Regions from separate parts of the Homo sapiens genome. Here region 1 is linked to region 2. The links are contacts of gene promoters, found by promoter capture Hi-C in human tissues and cell types (Jung and others, 2019). All regions are on one chromosome and are shown on one strand. Each heading gives the region's core, a stretch centred on a gene start or on the middle of the fragment in contact. The rest is flanking DNA. Distances are from core to core; before and after follow the strand shown.

Region 1 (5,947 bases), core at 312-2,811, 120 kb after region 2:
TCTTTTTGTTTGTGGAGACAGAGTCTCACTATGTTGCCCAGGCTGGTCTCAAACTCCATGCAATCTTCCCACCTTGGCCTCTCAAAGTGCTGGGACTATAGTCACGAGCCACCACGCCCGGTGCCCACACCATGCATCTTGAGCCACCACGCCTGGCACCCACAGCATGCATCTTACCCCAGGCCACATCCCTAGGGAGAGCTGGGACCAGAGAAGACCTCCTGCCCTGCGAGCTTCTTTTGACCTTTGTATCTGGGGCAATCAGCAGAGGTGACTGTACCATGGCACCCCACACCCAGTCCAGTTGTGAGAGGAAGGAGGTGGAGAGGAGTAGGTAGACATAGTAAAATAAATGTCATGGAAGCCAAATTTAGAGGATATGGAGAATGTCAAAGTGAGAAGCTGGCAGGTCATTTGGTCTAATGCTCTTGTTTTCTCCATGGGGGAAAGTGGGGAAGTTGACAGTTTCAAGGACACGTAGTGGCCCTGGAAAGAGAGAAGGGTCATTACAGTGGTTGTTATGGTCATTACAGTAGACCAGATTCTGAGACCTAACGTGAACCCTGGGCTTCCCCATTTAGCACTGCTTTCCCCTGAAAGCTTCATTCACTTGTCTACCCAGGGCAAGGGGAACTCCTGGCCATGTGCCTGGGGGCCTTTGCTCTCTCTTCCTGCTCCTCCAGAATAACTTCCCTTTGGGTAATTTTTCCATTACACTGTTCCCCTTTGGACTTTCAGAAATAAAAACCCAGCCCCCCTGGTGTGCAGTCACACTTGCGCCCTGAGGAGTAGTTAAAATTCAGCTTGAGGGGCACTTAGTGTCACAGAAGCCTAGATAAAGAAACAAGATTTCAGGCAGGAAGAAATAATAAAGAGGCAGGACTTCAAGTGTCCTGTGAAACACAACATTCGGCCTCCGGCACACACATCCGTGGGAGACGGCTCAACTTCTTTATAAAGTGGTGAGTTCTGTGTGAGCACAGATGCATTTTGTTTTCCTATGAGGAATCAATGATTAAATTATCAGAAAGCTAAAAACCAGGCTGCCTGAATATTCCCCGACGTGTCCCCTGTGTCTCCCCAGCACCTCCTGCTCAGGAGGTACAGGCTTTATCTCCAAAGCTTTAGTTTAAATGTCCAACACATCTTATTAATGAAAGTAATAAGCTGTTGTTTATTATATGTCATGATGGGGAATATGACTATTTAATATAAACCTGACATTTAAATTCCACTTAGTTATGAGACGTGGACGATATCAAGGCATAACTCTTTACCCTGGAGTAAAAACTCCCTGGGTCTGCATTTTAAAGCATTGAAATTTTCAAAGTAATCAGGTTCCTTTTTTTTTTTTTTTTCCAGAGGAACCAAATTGTGAAGACATCTGTTCTGTTATTAATTTCACATACATCTTAAGCTCCTCAAGGCCAGAAATGAGGCTTCATTCACGTCGAATTAATGAAACATGATTGTAAGTCCCTTGCTTGGAAATGCTGTCACACAGTTCTGAGCTGCTTATAAGCACTGAGTAATCTCTGAAACTGCCAGGGGACGGCCACTTGAAATCTGCCCTCCCCTCCCCCTGCCACCCAAAAACAATATCTGAATATATCACAACACTAACTATATCCTGAAAGATTAATAGCAGATAAAAATTTCTGGGAAATGAATCAGACTTTCTCAGTAAAGGATACAGAGATCTCAGGCAAAAGCAGATTGCATAGTGGAAGAGCTCTTTGGGATACAGTTTAATAACTGTGCCCCAGGCTGCCCCTGAATACACCCAAAAGGACGATGGTGGGCCAGGAAGGGGGTGGGGAGTCTTGGAATTTCTTGCAGAGATGTCTTTTGAGGGTGTGTACGAAAATGTACTGGAGGTGACACAGATGTGAAACTGGAAACTTGATCTGCGAAAGCATGATGTATGTGTCAGGTGTGTGGGAGAATGTGTGTGCATATGGAAACTGTGTGTGAATGCATGCAGGAATGTGTATGAGTCTACTTACATGTGGGTGAGTATGTGTATATCAGTGTGTGAGTTCGCGCACGTATGAGTGTGAAAATGTGTGTGTTGTGAGTTTGTGTTGGTGACTGTGTATGAGGGTATGTGTGTATGAATATGGGTGAGTTTGCATGTGTGAAAATGTCTGTGTTGCAAGTTTTTATTGGTGAGTGTGTATGAGGGTATGTGTGTATGAATATGGATGAGTTTGCATGTGTGAAAATGTGTGTTGTGAGTTTGTGTTGGTGAGTGTATATGAAGGTATGTGTGTATGAACATGGATGAGTTTGCATGTGTGGAAATATGTGTGTTTCGAGTTTTCATTGGTGAGTGGGCATGAGGGTATGCGTGTATGAATATGGATGAGTTTGTGTGTGAAAATAATTTTGTGTGTCTGTGGATGCATATGAAGGTGTGTGTGTGTGTGTGTGTGTGGTGAGTGGATGCATTGACATGCACAGATCTCTCAGGACAGACAGGAATCAGTCAGTCCGGGCTGGATCTTAAATAGCAGCTCAGCACAATACCATGCCCATCTGAGCCAGTCTTGAAAGGAGCTTGCTCTTGAGGTTTTGGGTTTGGGGGGCTTGATTTTTTTTTTTTGTCAAATAACTGAAAATGCCAGCAGAAAGATTGTCTGGAGGGAGGCATGAGATGGGGAGCCTGAGATTTCTTAATCAAACTTTCAAGTGTTATTTTTGGTCTTCCGCTGAGCTGGGACCAAAAAAGAATCTGCATATGATATTTACATCTCAAATCTTCAGAGCCTCATTAGCTTTGATAGTTATTTATTTATTTATTTATTTGCAAAAAGGAATTTAAATCAAACAGAGAGGCACAAAAGCAAAACCTTTGAATGTAGTGCAACATTAATTAAAACAGGCAGCCGAAGGGTAGAGTGAAATACAATGGAATCCAGAAAAAAAAAAAGACAATGAAACTAATTAGACTCTGATGGGAAGATCCTTCCTCGTTTGGTGATCATCCATTGGTAATTAATAAGTCACAAATATTGATGTTTGAAGAAAAGTGCCAGAATTTTAACCCCTGTTTTTCCAGAAGTTTAAAAAAAATTTCTTTAGATTCTGATCTTCTAAACTAAATCAGTCAAATGATTGGATGTTGAATTTTACAGTCATGTGTTGGTGACGGATGGGGATGTGTTCTGAGAGGCTATTTCATCATTGTGCCAACCTCATACAGTGTACTTACACACACCTAGATGGTATAAGCTATATGGAATAGCCTTTTGCTCCTAGGCTACAAACCGGTATAGCATGTATCACACTGAATACTGTAGGTAATTGTAACACCGTGGTAAGCATTTACATATGTAAATATAGAAAAGGTCCAGTAAAATTATGGTATAAAAAGTAGAGAATGGTACACCTGTATAGGGCACTTACTGTGAATGGAGCTTGCAGCACTGGAATTTGTTCTGTGTGAGTCAGTGAGTGAGTGGTGAGTGAAGGTGAAGGCCCAGGACATTACTGTATACCACTAGAGACTTTATAAACACTGTAGACTTAGGCCATGCTAAATTTATAAAAAATAAAGTAATTGCACTACAGTATTACAATGGCTACCGTGTCACTAGGTGATATGAATTTTTCATCTCCGTTATAATCTTATGGGACCACTGTCATATATGCAGCCTGTCATTGACCGAAACACCATTACACAGCACAGGACAATATTGTGTTCTGGGGGAAACAGACTAGCCTATACCAGCAACTGGTTAGCTCTCAACACCTGTCCTCAAAATAATGTGCAGGTGGATCGAATTCAACTGTCAGCGGATAAAGATATATCTAATACAAGAGATGCTGGACTCCAGCAGTTAGCATTAACCCAGTGGTGGAACCAACTTGTATATATGAATGGATACAATCCCAGCTAGATTTTTGCCCCTGTATATTTTGAGGCTTTGTTGTATGATCCATGCTTTGTAGATCTGTGAAAAACATTTCCAGGCATCCAGTTGAAAAACCCTTGACCAACAGTATAAAAACGACTTTTAGCTTTGCCTAAGCATAAGGCAGCATCAAAGGGGTCTGGCTTCCTTTTGGGAAGTTCTTTTGAATGAAGTGATCAGTTAGTATTTATGCTTTTTGTCCTTCTGTATTATGCAACAGCACAAATGCACAACTGCCCCAGTGGGACAATCTAATGCATAGCCAGCCAGTCACACAGTTTTAAAGTTGGACGCATGTGTCTTTGGCACGTCCCAGGTCTCCTTTCAACTTCTTTCAGAATCTCTTTTTTACCACCCTCCAGCCCAGCGCTTGAGGTTCTCAGGATGACCCTGGGTCATTTCTAGCTTAAAGAGAGTGGGCTTTGAGAAATATCTTGATAAGTGTTAGTGCAATTTTTAAAGATGGCTAAAATGCTAATGGTGAAATTTCAGGCTTTGTGGCAGTTGGATGAAAGGAATGTTTTTGAGCAAAAGATCTTTCCAACGATCCCTCAAACCTACAATGCATAAAAGTGGACTTGTTTAGATAAGTCAGTAAATTATGCCTAATCTCAGTTTTCCTCCATGTAAAGAGGAAGAAATTAAACTAGAAGTAGAATGATCTTTAAGGTTTATTAAAGAGAGAGAGAGAGAGAGAGAGAATGGTTTGCCATGTGCAAAAAAAGGCAAGGCTCTTCCTTATAAGTAGCACAGGGATTCATTCATTCATTCATTCATTCTGTGTGTGTGTGTGTGTGAGAGAGAGATCTCTGGGCCAAACCCTATATCACAGTTCTTTCACATCATTTCACCTACCCCTTACAACAACCTTTGAGGTGGGTATTCCTAACAGGAGTGGTTGTCAATTTATTTAACTATCAATAAGCCACAGATACTTGCCAATCAGAAAGAACACTGAGTTAAACACTAGAACAGGGTCCTGGAGACCCCTGACTGTGCCAGGTATTTGTTGCTAGATGAGGAAAGAGGTGGGGAGGAGCCAGGGTGCCTGGCACAATGAAGGGGAGATTGGGAAGCTATTTGACAACTGGCCTGGGAAATGCTCTAATTTTTAAACTGCTGGTATGGATTTTGTACTATTGGATATGGCTGAACATCAGCCGTGACTTTCAATCTCCCCATTCTGCAAAGGACAAAGCTGAGGCCCTGGGAGGTCATGAAAGCTTCTCAAGATAAACCCATCAAAAAGCGACAGGCTTGAGTTGAAGGCTACTTTAAGTCTTTGAGACTCCAAAGTTGGTGTTCTTAACCATTATGCTGACTGTACACATGTCTCTAAGTTGACCTCAGTCTGTGCCAGGCTGGCCTGGCATTTCTCTACAAAGAACTGGAGGAAAGTGGATCGGAGGAAAGATCTGGTTTGAGTGGGAGTAGAGTTGGCCGATTTAGTAAGTAAAAATACAGGACACACAGTTAAGTTTGAATTTCAGATAAACAACAAATAATGCTTTTGTATATTTTTAGCTTATTGCACGGGATATATGTACACTGAAAATTATTCATTTTTAATCTGATGTTCAAATTTAACTGGACATCTTGCATTTTATCTGGCAACACTACGTGTGGAGGGAGGGTCACAGGGATGCTAAGACATTTCAAATACCAAGACACTTCAATCTGAAGAAACATTTTCTTTGCTAGGAACTCCCTTTTGCAAAGTCAATGATATCAGCTGTAGTAAGAACACTTCTAACCTTACCCTGAGTACCTCTTTGATTTTAAAGTCATAGAATGTCAAGGCAGAGGTCATTTAAGCCAATACCCTGCCTCACTGTCTTTCTGCCTCTTTCTGTCCTCTCTCTGCCCAAGAAGGCAGAACCCACAGCACCGGCGCTGTGGCTTGGCTTTGAAGCCAAGGAGCATAGCCCACGAGGCATGTCCTCATCTCCAAAGCACATGGAAACTATTCCTTTCCTGAAGGTCTTCATGGTTAGCCTGCTGCAAGTCTCATGGTTTTTCAGCTGCAGTTG
Region 2 (6,324 bases), core at 2,387-4,886:
TGGGGTAGCTAGATAAACCAACTTTTAAAAACACATGCACCGCTACCCAAAAATATTTTTAAAGTGACCTTTAAGATCACATAAAAATTTTGAATGTTTCTGGTAGTTTGCTGTTCATAGTTACAGAGCACATGATTCTTTTTCCTTTTTTATAGGTTATAAAATTTAGTGGATTATATCAAGATAAAGTTACTTTTCAAAATCACATGGGATCTTTTGAAATTTAAAAATGTAGATGTATAATTTCACATATTTTTATCACTGAGTATGATTTTCAATTTACATTGATTAAATTACTTAATGTCAGAAATTTAAGAATAATGGCATGGAGTTATATGAATTATATAAATCTTAGGCTATAAATAGTCTTGCATATAGAGCAGGCAAATTTTTAAAAAGGTGTCAAGTTAAATATTGCTTCTAACATTAAAAATGTGCCTTTAAAACATCAAATATTGAATGAAAACTAAGAAATTCAATCACTTGCTAGGCTATTGGTTCTACACAATGCTAAATATTTGGTTACTTGGAAAAAGTCCAGATTTTTTAGTTCTAGTATCCACTCTGATGTCTGAGGTTACTTATACAAATTCAGAAGAGAAAAGGAGAGAAACTTAGGTAATTTCAGGGTGTTTTTCCATGAGCATGCTGGAAGAGAATTGTAAAAGTAGGTAATCCCTCAACTTGAGAAGCAAGGGCAATAATACCACTCCTAGTGTGAGATGATTGTTTTAACTTTTATGAAACATTTACAATAAAGTGAGGAACAAAAATGTGGTTACATTGTTCTTTCCACAACCATCCTATGGAAAGGTTAAATTATAAACCTAATATTCTGAGAATTTAAAAGATGTCTGGCAGCTTTCCCCTTTCTTGGCTACTTTACTACATCCATGCCTAACATATTCCTGGACTTATTCTAAAATAGAGAGATTGTTATTAATGTGTGGTTGCTGGCAGCAGCCTCCTTCTTATGTAACCACACCTGGTCTAAGTAGCACACCAGACCAAGGTTAAATTACAAGTCCCTTGAGGAAAGTGGATGTGATCTCTGTGCTTGGCTCAGTTCAGAATTATATGTGTGTGGTGTTTCATAAATATTGTATGATGGTGATGATGGTGAACACAAAGGTCAAAAGCCAACCTCTCCACATTTCACTGGGGATTTCTAACAGGAAGCTGAGGGATGTTAACAGGCTAGTTACATCATTTCCATAGTTACAACTTTCTTCTAAATGAGTCCAAAGAGGAAGGAAGAATTTATCTGCAAACTCGGGATGACCCTCCAAAGTAGCCTGGGATAGAGACAATGCATTAAAAATCAGAGAAGCAGAATGGGTAGAGACCAATTAAATAGCAGACAGAGGAACCAAGCACTTGCAAATGTAGCCTCTCTAGCTGTGTCTACTGGCACCGGAATCCTGGATTCTGTTTGCTCTGCTATATTAGCCTATTATCAAAATTATAAAGCCAAACCAAGGTCTGTACGCAAGAAAGGCACAACTACCCCAGCTTTTGGGTGGCATTTTCTTGGTATTTCTATCTTCCTTCTCCTGAATGCTGGCAACACTGACTCTCCTGCATGGCCTTAGTTTTGGCTGAGACAGGCTTGAAAAATACTGTGAGGTGGCCCTACTTCAAAGCAATCAAGGCTGTCAACCTTGGCTGATCATTAGAATCACTTGGGGAGCTTTAAACATATTCATCTCTGGGCCCCACCTCTAAAAAGTCTTATTTAACATATTTGGAGACTCAAGTATTAGTATTCCTAAAGAGCTCTCCCAGTGATTCCAAATTGCAGCCAGGGCTGAGAATAATTGCAATAGTCAGCAATATGTGTTCTCTATATTGGTTTACATTCCATTTAACTGATTACTGTTCATGTGTTTTTCTTTTTTTGTTTTTCTTTGTTTGCTGCTTATTTCCTGCCTGTAGTTTTCAAAGATGAACAAAAGAATTTTCCTTGCTCTAAGGCAGGACAAGACACGACAAGAGCTGGCTAACGTCAACAGGGCATGCCTGATTTTGTATGAAGTACGTGTAAGAGCAAACATTTTGATTCATTAAGGCAGCTAGAGACATTTTTGAACTATGAGCATATTGTTTTATTCCTCAATGTCTTTGACTCTCTTTACAAATGTATCAAAACAAAATTGCTAGTGCTTTTTTTTACTAAAGAAACAGAATTAAAGAACTTTAGAATTTTAGATAGTAGCTCCATCATTTAAAAAAATGCTACCCTTATATAAAACTGCTTAATTTCATTGTCTGAACCTGTTTCTTTATGGTTAAATAAGTTTCCTAAAAAGCACTTTTCATTTTTTTACATAATGGGAAAACCAGGTATAAAATTACAAGAAAAACAGATTTTGAACCTCTCTCCTCAACTTTTTAAAATGGAAAATGTATCTCCTGAGGGCTTTCTTGATTTATTCTAGGATTAAAAAAATTCATTCTTAACAACAATAACAACAATAATAAAGTTCCTACTCCTTGGAATTTATTCACTAAATAAGCAACACCTTTTAAAATCTACTCCATTAGAACTCTACCCCACAACCTCCCCACCATATATATGCAAGTCCATATAAATCCAAATCTCAAAAAGCTGATATACAAACCACTCAGAACATTTTTCGTGAAATATCTGTTTTAATTCAGCAGTAAAAGGCAGCACATGATCAGAAATATGTAGGGTTGTGAAAGAGCTTGCCAGGAAATGAGAGCTGTTGCACAGGGTATCAGCAACTGTGTACAGCTTGGCAAGGTTTTCAGTCCTGTCCTCCAGGGAGGATCTTGACTTCTCAGTTCCCACTTCAGGAATACATGGTCAACTGCAGCCATTCTTTGATAGACACTTGAATCAGGCCATCTCTATCTCTATCCAGAGACTTGAAGGCACGAAACATGGCATCCAGGCGGACCAAGCAGCTGATGAAATTGTTAAAATCCATATCTCCATCTTCATTAGCATACCGGCGGACAATCATTTGGTAAAGTTGTTCATTTAGCTGGAAGCCTGCGGCCTGCAGAGCTCCCCGCAGCTGAGAACTTCCCAGAGACCCAGAATGGTCCCTGTCATACTGCTTATAAACACACTGCCATTTCTTGATGTTGTTCCACAGATACTTAAATTCTTCAAAGCCCAGCTTACCAGTCGTGTCACTGTCCATGACAGACACAATGCTCCGGCAGGTGTCAAGACTAAAACCGTCAGTCTTAAGATCTTTGTGCTTAGAAAGGACTTTGTTGAGAATATTCATCAGATCAGTGGCACCCACCTCCATGTCTGGTCCAGCCAGCTGTGTAAATTGTTGCCGAAATCGCCTAACTTCCTCACTTTCTGAGGCCTCCACACTGGTGAAATGCTGCTGAGTGGGAGGCGGTTCTGGAGTATACTGAGCTGCTGCAGCCTCACTGATAAAATTCACAATTCCTCCAACTATCCCTCCAATATTTCTTCCTCCTCCTTCTCTTCTCTGACCACCTCCTCCAAAGAGGCCTCCAAGAGCTTCTCCAAGACCTCGATCTGCTCCTTCCAATAGAGCCTTTGCAAGAAACATGCTTTCAGTTTAACAAGCAAATGCGGCAGCAATCTTAGAGATGGTATGAAAAAAGATGAAATGGAGTTCAAGTAGTTTACATGTGGAAGAACTGGCTTTTCTTTACCTGCTTACACTGCACCACGCCCCATGATGTGATGTTTCACATCCTACTGAAGATACCTGAGTTCCATGAGGTCCTAGCACCTGCCATATTTTACAAGGCCTCAATAAAATTGTTTTCACTCTTCCAGATACTTATAAATTATAGTATGTAGGACACCTTAGGATAATAGTTTTAAAGAAAAAATATTAAAGTATGCATTTTTATGTCATTGATTTCTTAGTCCTCTGTCTCAGCACCTAAAAAATGATGTGCATTTTCCTAACAGGAAAAAGGTAAATGATGCAAGGAAATCAAAAATTTATTCTCTAAGAAATATTTATTGTTAGAATAGAATTGAAGAAATCTTGGGCATTGGAAGAATATTTAATCCTCTTCCTTTAGCAAAGATTCTCAAAATCCAGTAGTCTTAAGAAAAATTTAGAAGGGAGATTTTTAAAATGCAAGGTCCTGAATTTCCACTCCCAGAGATTCTGATTCCATAGGGCTGCTGTGGTGTCTGTGATCGACATTGCTAAAATCTTTTTTGAAATGTAACATTCATGTAAAAAATGTATCATATAAATCACAAATGGATAGCTCAAAGAATTTCACAGACTGCACACATCTCAGAGGCCTCTTCATACTTCTTTCTAGTTACTTCCGTCTTCCAAGGATAACCACTGTCCTGACATCTAACACCATAGATTTATTTTTGCACCTTAAATAAATTAAATCAGACAGTACAGACTCTTTCATTTATTCCTTTTTCATTATAAAAATGTTAAATGTTTTAAAATTGTGATAAAATACACATGCCATAAAATATACTATTTTAACCATTTTTAAGTATAGAGTTCAGTGGCATTAAGTATATTTGCATTGTGAAACCATCACCACCAGCTATCTTCAGAACTTTTTTCATCTGGCAAAACTGAAACTGTACCCATTAAAGAATAACTCCCATTCTCCCCTTCCCCCACCCCTGGTAACCATCTCTCTATTTTCTAGCTCTATGATTTGACTACTCTGCATGCCTTATATAAGTGGAATCATACAGTATTTGTTCTTTTGTGACTTGCTTATTTCAATGAGCATAATTTCTTCAAGATTCATCCATGTTGTATCATGTGTCAGAATTCCCTTCCTTTCTAATGATGAATAATATTGTATTGCATTAATATACTCATTTTGTTTTTCCATTATCCCATTGGTGAATACTTGGGTTGCCCTTTTGGCTATTGGGAATAATGCTGCTATGAACATGGGTATACAAATATTTGTTTGAGTCTTTGCTTTCAATTCTTTTGGGTATATACCAAGAAGTGGAATTGCTGAATCATATGATAATTCTATTTTTATCTTTTTAAGGAACTACCATACGCTTTTCCTTATTGACTGTACCACTTACATCCCCACCAGCAATACACAAGAGTTCCAATTACTCCATATGCTTGCAAACACTTGTTATTTTCTCTTTTGTTTTGTTTTCTAATAATAGCCATCCTAATGGCTGTAAAGTGGTATAACATTGTAGTTTTGATTTGCATTACCCTAATGATTAATGATGTTGAGCATCTTTTAATGTATTAATACTTACTGACCAAAGAAGATCTTTGGAAAAATGTCTATTTAAATCTTTTGGCCATTTTAAAATCTGGTTATTTGTTGGGTTTCTTGTTGTTGAGTTGCAGGAGTTCTTTAAATATTCTAGATATTAATCCCTTATCAGATATATAATTTGTAAATATTTTCTTTCATTCTGTAGGTTACCTTTCCACTCTGTTGTTAGTGTCCTTTGATGCACAAAAGTTTAAAATTTGTATGTGGTCATATTTATCTATTTTTCTTTGGCTGCCTGTGCTTTTGGCGTAATATTCAAGAAATCATTGAGAAATCCAGTGTCATGAAGCTTTTCCTCTGTTTTCACTGAAGAGTTTTATAGTTTCAGCTCTTATGTTTAGATCTTTGATCCATTTTGAGTTAACTTTTGTATATGTGTAAGTTAAGGGTCCAACTTCATTCTTTTGCATGTGGATATATAATTTTCCCAGCACTATTTGTTGAAAAGACCGTCCTTTCCCCATTGAATGGTTTTGGCATTCTTGCTGAAAATCATATGACCATATACACAAGGGTTTCTTCTGGGATCTCTATTCTATTCCATTGGCTTATATGTCTTTCTTGAAACCAGTGCTGCACTGTTTTGATTACTGTAGGTTTGAAGTAAGGTTTGAAATGAGGAAATGTCAGGCTTTCAACTTTGCTATTCTTTTTCAAGATTGTTTTGGCTATTCAGTGTCCCTTGAAATTCCCTATGAATTTTAGGATTGATTGTTCTATTTTTGTAAAGAAACATTGGGACTTTGAAAAGGATTGCTTTAAATCTGTAGATCACTGTGGGAAGTACTGACTCTTAATATTGTCTTCTAATCCATAAACATGGAATATCTTTCCATTTATTTGTCTCTTCTTCAATTTCTTTCAGCAGTGCTTTGTAGTTTTCAGTGTACAAGTCTTTAGCTTCCTTCTTGAAGTCTATTCCTAAGTATTTTAATTTTTTCTATGCCATTGTAATGGAATTGTTTTCTTAGTTTCCTTTTCAGAATTGTTCATTGTTGGTGTATAAAATGCAACTGATTTTTGTGTGTTGATTCATATCCTGTAACATTGCTAAGT

Evidence for each region. Contacts are between HindIII fragments. The study calls those that stand out against the background at their distance.
Region 1: a contact is called between a fragment that was not itself captured here and the fragment with the promoter of CAPNS2 in region 2, in 2 of the 25 tissues and cell types used here (mesendoderm cells and thymus).

The regions. Positions count from the first base shown.
Region 1 is chr16:55,439,637-55,445,583 of GRCh38, reverse strand. It overlaps MMP2-AS1 (MMP2 antisense RNA 1), which reads left to right. Exons shown (of 7, transcript NR_147198.1): 4 at 1,363-1,471. Among named protein-coding and RNA genes, the nearest start is that of MMP2-AS1, 20 kb to the left of the region's middle. The HindIII fragment of the contact is 3,141 bases long and covers 1-3,131 here.
Region 2 is chr16:55,563,996-55,570,319 of GRCh38, reverse strand. It overlaps CAPNS2 (calpain small subunit 2), which reads right to left and starts at 3,636. Exons shown (of 1, transcript NM_032330.3): 1 at 2,633-3,636. The coding sequence starts at 3,563. The coding sequence ends at 2,817. The region is part of intron 11 of LPCAT2 (lysophosphatidylcholine acyltransferase 2); the gene reads right to left. The HindIII fragment of the contact is 10,931 bases long and covers 1-6,054 here.